Linked DNA regions of Homo sapiens: region 1 is linked to region 2. Evidence: promoter capture Hi-C in 16 types of primary human blood cells and fetal thymus (Javierre and others, 2016). All regions are on one chromosome and are shown on one strand. The core of a region is centred on a gene start or on the middle of the fragment in contact, and the rest is flanking DNA. Distances in the headings are between cores, read along the strand shown. Region 1 overlaps CNTNAP2 (contactin associated protein 2). Region 2 holds the start of CNTNAP2 (contactin associated protein 2).

Region 1 (3,737 bases), core at 832-3,331, 2.0 Mb after region 2:
CTCAGTTTCCTGACTAATCAGTGAGGGTGGGCTCAGGGGTCGAAGTCTATTCACTGAAGCTTTTAGGTCTTAACATTATTGGATTCAATCACATACTTCTTTTTTTTGAGACAGAGTCTCACACTGTTGCCTGGTCTGGAGTGCAGTGGCGTGATCTCGGCTCACTGCAACCTCTGGCTCACTGCAACCTCCGCCTCCTGGGTCAAGTGATTCTCCTGCCTCAGCCTCCCGAGTAGCTGGGATTACAGGCACCCTCTATCATGCCCAGCTAATTTTTTGTATTTCTAGTAGAGATGGGGTTTCACTATGTTGGCCAGGCTGGTCTCAAACTCCTGACCTCATAAGCCACCCGCCTCGGCCTCCCAAAGTGCTGGGATTACAGGCATGAGCCATCGTGCTCAGCCTCAATCACATACTTCTAAGCTGATGTGATTGTTTCTGTTTTTGTGGAGTTACAACCAGTTGCAAATTTAGAGAGACCACATTCCCCATAAGACTGCATATGCTTCTGACACCAATTGCAAGTTCAGAAGTTCCCCAAACCACCCCCAGGTTTGATAGTTCTGTAGAAGGACTCACAGAATTCACTGAATTCTGCTGCCGAAGGCTGCTATACTCATGCTGCATTATGGGTGAAGAATGCACGTGAAAATCAGACAGGGGTAGAAGCACAGATGGCAGAGTCCAGGAACAGTACCAGATGCTGAGTTTACAGTCAACCTCTCTATATAGATTCAGGAGCACATTTCTTTCCTGGAACGGGTGTGTAACAATTTGCATGGGGTATTGCCAATGAGGGAAGCTTCCTGAGCCTCCATGTTCAGAGTCTTTACTGAGACTCCGTTATATAGGAATGATTGATTGCCCACATGGCTGACCTCAGTTTCCAGCCCCTCAGAAGGCTGGAGAATATAAGCCAAAGCCCCACACCCTTCATCACATTGTTGGTCAATCTGGCATGGTAAGGCCCCATCTTTTTTCTTTTTCTTTTTTTTTTTTTTTTTGAGACAGAGTTTCGCTCTTGTTGCCCAGGCTGGAGTGTGCAATGGCACCATCTCGGCTCACCACAACCTCCACCTCCCAGGTTCATGTGATTCTCTTGCCTCAGCCTCCCAAGTAGCCAGATTACAGGCATCTGCCACCACGCCCAGCTAATTTTGTATTTTTAATAGGGATGGCATTTCTCCATGTTGGTCAGGCTGGTCTCGAACTCCTGACCTCAGGTGATCCACCCGCCTCAGCATCCCAAAGTGCTGGGATTACAGGCATGAGCCACCACACCCAGCCCAGGCCCCATCTTAAATGCCATCTGGTGTGGCCCTACCCCTAAAACACAATGTTAGACTATCTGGAATAACCCAAGGCTCCCAGGCAAATGAAGACATGCTTACCAGGCAGGACATCCCAAGGGCTTAGATATTACCTTCCCAAAGCCAAAGGCAAGGGCCAGACCTCTTGAGGGCAAGGCTAAATTCTCTATTACACAGTTCTGAAAATCTCTCTGTTGAGGACAAGAAAGCAAAGATTCCTAGGACTTACTACTAGAAGGAAACCTGAAACTCCTAATGTTTCTTAAAGTAAGATTCCAGGACCACTTGCGTCAGAATCACCTGGCATTAACAAAATGCAGACTCCAAAGCCCCACCCCAAACCTACTGAATCAGATTCTCTGTAACAGAAGCATTGGAATATGCATTTTAAGCATTTTCCTTTAGCAGTTTTTTATGTAGGCCAAAACTTGAGAATTGTAATTAAGATCCAAGGTCCCTGTTCCTACAAGTAGAGTGAAACTAGCATGCAATAAAGCAAAGGGAGAAAATTCTGCTTCTTATTCCACTGGTGAGTTTATCTTGGGCAAGCCATTAGTCCTCAAACATCATATGTTTGAAAATAACGTTTAGCTACATTTGTTTTAAACAGACATAACTAATGTAGCATGCTCTTAGACTGAGAAAATATTCATTGAGTTACTTTGTGCTCTTGGGAAAGATGCTTGTGGAATACAAGATGGAACTCCATCTAGTTCGGCTGGCCTTGGGAAAATGAGTGGATTTCTCTTTTCAGAGTATCCATGTGATCACTGTTGCCTTCCTAGGCAGGAGTAGTTTCTATTCATCCTTTCATTCATTCACAAATTGGTATCTACTGTGTGGCAGGCAATGTTCTCAGTGCTGAGGAGAGAACAATGAACAAAACAGAAAATGCCTCTGCCTTCCTGAGGCCAGGACCACATATATATTATTCCAGATAGTGATACATGCTATGCAGACTTTTTAAAAATCAGGATTAAAGGGGAAAGGACAGCTGAGAGCGAAGTTTGTTATTTAACATAGAATGTTTAGGGATGGAGTTTCTAATATGATGACTTGTGAGCAGAGAAGTAAACGCTCAGCCACAGAGTTATTTGGGTAAAGTGAACAGCAAGTTCTAAGGCCCTGGGGCAGGAGCAGTTTCAAATGTTGTGAAGGAGAAAGTCCTATGTGGTGGAATTAGAGGAAGACTAAGAGGAGTGGAAATAGATATGGGGAGTACAGACATCTCTTTCAAGGAATTTGGAAACAAAAGGGTGCATAGAAATGAAATGGTAACTTTTGGGATAGATAAGGTCAAAAGAAAGGTTTTATAGTGCCAGTGGTTGTTAAGAGTAGAGATATGTCTCTGTGTGTGTGTGTGTGTGTGTGTGTGTGTGTGTGTGTGTGTTTGTATAACAACCCAGTTGTAGAGGGAGGGGAGAATTGTCAGAGTGGTGTCCTTGAGCTGGTAGGAAGGATGGCATCCCGTGTATAGGTGCAGCAGTTGGCCTTGAATTAGGAACATAGATGAACTCTTTACTTCTTTCTCCTTATCTCTCTGATTCCCATGGCGACCTTATTTTCAGCCTTCCTGCCTCTTCTCATGACCCTTTCGTGTTAAATAAATCCTTTTATCTTCTGATGTACAGTTAGTACTTCATTCAGAAAAAAAATACAGGAAACAAAAAAAGATATTGATAACACTGTTCACCATAGAGTGAGGCTGAAATATCTGTTCTACCAATTACCAGTTTTGTTGTATGACTCAAATGAGATTTATTGTACAGAAGATCCCCCAGGAAGCTGCCACCCCTCGAACCTTATTTTAGAATGGAAAAAACGTATCATTACCAAAACTAAACAGTGTTAGCTGGTCTGCCCATCATGCTCATGCTATATAACTTTCCTTCTCTTTTCTCTTATCCTGTTCTGTACTGAATGGCCAAATTTTTTCTGCTACTTCAACTGAAACTGTGGTCTAATATCTAAATGCTCCCTCACCTGCTGAGAAAACTTAGAGCCAAAAACACCTGGTATTGGTCAGTTGTTAAATTTATCGCTCAATATACTAAGCTTGGAGTGATTTGTTGAGTTAGAATGAGAGCAAATAGTGCCACCTGCTGGAATTACACTTGGAAGGGGAAGCGTGAACATGCCAAGAGCTCTCCATGGTTTTGTCCCAATCATTACTTTAAGCCTTTCAGATGAAGTCATGAGCCTGCTTTATTAGAAAGTAATTTCTTCCACCTATATTCTTTTCTGATGGCAATATGCCACCTTATGTATTTCTCTTTTAGTATTTCTCTTTTCTCCCTGTAATGATTCAGTATCTAAAATTACCATTAAGACCAGCTGTATTTCATTTTATTTCTCTTAGAATCTCTTGAAAAATTATAGAATGTTGCCATTTGAAAGAACCTTAGAGGTTCTCCGTAGTTTCAAACA
Region 2 (3,312 bases), core at 261-2,760:
AGTGGAATGCTTGGCTCTGCAGAGACATAAGAATTCAAATACTTTAAGTAGACTAGATGGAAGAAAAACATATGGAGGGTAGAGTGTGAAGAGCTGTGAGCTGGGGAGAAGAGCTTGATAATTATTATTAAAATTATCTAAATGTGAAAAAATCTAGGTCTCTCTAAACATTCTTAATTCTTAGTGCTTGCAATGCCTCAGGTACCTTGAAATAGTTACCCATATGCCTGCTTATGTATTTCCGTTTTGTGTTTGTGTTTGTATGCGTGTTTGCCTAAGTGTAGTTTCTCCTGGCAGCAGCGTGTGTTTGGTGTACGTGTGCATATGTATGAGTACGAATTAATTACATATCGAAAACATGTGCATTAACGGCATCTGCAGTCCTCCCTCCCTGCTCCAGTCAGTCGGGATGTTTAGCACCGTCACTTGGTGTTAGGACCACTCGGAAGACCTGCCTGTCGGACGCCTGACTGTGGTTCCCGGGGGGCCGGAGCTCCAGGAGCCTGTACCATCTTTATCTGAAGGGGAGGAGAGAAGGAAAGGAGAAGGCATCCGAGCGAGGGTGTTCTCCTTCCTGCAGCCGGGTAGGGGGCAGCCAGGTTTGGAGCAGGGTTCTAGGATTACACGGCAAATCCCCAACTTCAGCACCGCGGACAGCATCACCTCCCGCCCAGGGAGAGGCGCGCGCCTCCTTGCTCCGCCCCCGCCCCAGCTGATGGACCCCGGCCGGTCGGCTCAGTCTCCCTTTTGCTTTCAAACGAGGCCAGGGCAGGGCAGAAGGGTTTTGACAGCCAGAGGGGTACGGTAAGGAGGAGGAAGAGGAGGAGGAGGCGGAGGAGGAGGAGGAGCCGAGGAGGGAACCGAGAAGGGAAGAGAAGGGAGGGCTTCCCTCCGCCTCGCTCGCCGCCCGGGCTCACAGGAGCTGGCGGCGGCGGCGGCGGCGGCGGCGTCTCCTGCTCTCCGCGGCTGTTGCTGCTGCTCGCGCTCCGCCGCCCGGGAGATGCTTCCTCGCGCGGCGCAGCGCTGAGGCCGTGCGTGCGCCCCGGCTGCGCTGCGCGCTCCCCACATACACAAGCTCTCCATGTGAGCTGACAGGCGAGTGGAAACCCCTCGAGTCACGCTGCCCGGCGGCGGAGGGAGCGCTCGCCCGCAGTGGCAACAGCTGCACCACCGTCCCCGTCGCTCTGCCTTCCTCTTCTGCAGCCTCTGCTCTTCTGATTACCTCCCTCCCCCGTCCTTTGGTGATTTTTTTTTTTCAAGAAGGAGAGGGCGGGGTAGGTGTCCGTTCCCTCCCCTCTTCCCCCTCCTTTGCCTTCTTGGTTTGAATTTCCTCCCCCGGCGTTGCACTGGCACACAGTGCAAGAGGCAATACCCGCACGGAGGGAGAACGAAGGCTGAGACTCCCCTGCCGCTCCAAGCCCGGAAGAACTGGAGCCTGGAGGGGGGTGAGGGGAGAAGAGGAAGCGGGAGGGGCTTGGCTTCCTCGCGTATTTGAGGACAGCCCATCTCCCTTCAAGAACCCTACGGAGAGTCGGACTGCATCTCCGCAGCGAGCTCTTGGAGCGCCGCCGGCCGGGAGGCGAAGGATGCAGGCGGCTCCGCGCGCCGGCTGCGGGGCAGCGCTCCTGCTGTGGATTGTCAGCAGCTGCCTCTGCAGAGCCTGGACGGCTCCCTCCACGTCCCGTAAGTAGCCGTCTCCTCGCTCTGCTCTGGAGCAGTTTCAGTGCGGCATTGATGTTTGGCACCAGGGTATCAACTCCGAAGTGCATCGCAGTGCTGGCACCCTGATGTGTTTGTGTCTCCGCTGTCACACACTTGCAGCCACTGCAGTAGACAAACTCGAAACCCAGCGTTTCTGTTTTGGAAGAGACAGGGTTGTGACGCTGGTGATGTTTCTGGAAAGTTGTTCCTGGTCTTGGTGATCGGTTGGCAAGAGCTTGGCTAGAGAGACTGATGTAGATGGCAGCTTCTTAGGAGTTGTTTGTGCAGGGAGAGTTAACTGCATTTGGCTTAGGTAGGTCAGTGAATGAAAAGTGAAGACCATGGCAAAACCAAGTTTCTTATTTTTATTTATGGTTATAACTTAATGAGCACGGGGTTGAGGTTAACAAGAGGAGCATGTTTTAAACAGTTTGGGCACCTATAGGGTCTCTTTAACCTCTCCCGTTCCCTTAAAAAGTTAATGCCCATTTAGTACTTGCTTATTAAAATGGAAGGCAGCGAAATTGTAACTGAAATTGCTTTAATTCTTTGATACTTTGATATCATGGATATGACTGATGCAGTACGGTACTTGGGACACTCAGTGCAAAGCGTCGTTAATGTAGTAATAAACAGATTCTTAATAGGGTTTTCAGGAAAATAATTATATTCAATATGTATATCTCTGCATTTTAATCAACTGTGTGTGTGTGTTTGTGTGTGTGTGTGTTTAAGACTGCCCCTGTTTTCATGAGGTTTAGAAAGAAATGGAAGATTCTGGCCCATTTTCTGCATTCCTTTAGAAGTGCATACTGTGCATGTAGAGAGGAAATGCATGATTGTTCCTTTGGTTCAGAAAGAGTTAAACACTAGAAAGACTGCCTATAGGAATCTTAGGATAATATTCATAAGCGCATACTAGTTTCTGAGAATGAGTAAGTTGATAAAGAATTATCGTGGAGATTTCAGAGTTTAAAAGGAAGATTTTTTTGTCCATTTAGGAAAAGAAAAGTTTAATATTTTCCAGAATTCGTCATATGCGAAGTAGTCTTTGTTTCTAAGATTTTGGGATGTATTAATGCATCTTTGTTAATAATGATCTTATTGTAGTGGTAAATATCAACAGGAATAGCATTGAAAAAGGACATTATAAGTTGTAATAAGGAATCTACTATATAATATCCGGTTATGAGCCAGTATTACTGTTTTGACATATCTTCCTAAGTACAGTATTAGCTTTTCTTTTCCCACAATGTGTAAAGATAAGGAGATAAACTAACTGGCAATCTAAGTTTGTAATGAACTTGAAAACATTGTATAGCATTTTTTATAACACAAGTTAAATCACAAAGAGTTAAATATTGTTAATATTTATGTCAATTTTATAAATTTAAACAAATTTTGGGGATATAATGCTTGCTGTTGATATTTACACAAATATGTAACTCTATCACTGGGAAACTAGTTTGATGAAATTTCTGTTTCCATTTCAAGGTCTGGTTGTATAGAATTTCCTGCCACTTTTCCTGGAAAATAAACTCCTCATATATTAAATTTATTATATTCACTGATTGAAGGTCCTCATATCCAGGGTTTTTCCTGGGTTCTGTG

The links. Contacts are between HindIII fragments. The CHiCAGO score rates a contact against its expected background, and 5 or more counts as called.
Region 1: a fragment that was not itself captured here is called in contact with the fragment with the promoter of CNTNAP2 in region 2 in 1 of 17 cell types (megakaryocytes); the score reaches 6.2 in megakaryocytes.

What each region holds. Positions count from the first base shown.
Region 1 is chr7:148,139,435-148,143,171 of GRCh38, forward strand. All of the region lies in intron 16 of CNTNAP2 (contactin associated protein 2), which reads left to right. Among named protein-coding and RNA genes, the nearest start is that of C7orf33, 450 kb to the right of the region's middle. The HindIII fragment of the contact is 2,563 bases long and covers 801-3,363 here.
Region 2 is chr7:146,115,291-146,118,602 of GRCh38, forward strand. It overlaps CNTNAP2 (contactin associated protein 2), which reads left to right and starts at 1,511. Exons shown (of 24, transcript NM_014141.6): 1 at 1,511-1,683. The coding sequence starts at 1,587. The HindIII fragment of the contact is 7,089 bases long and covers 1-3,312 here.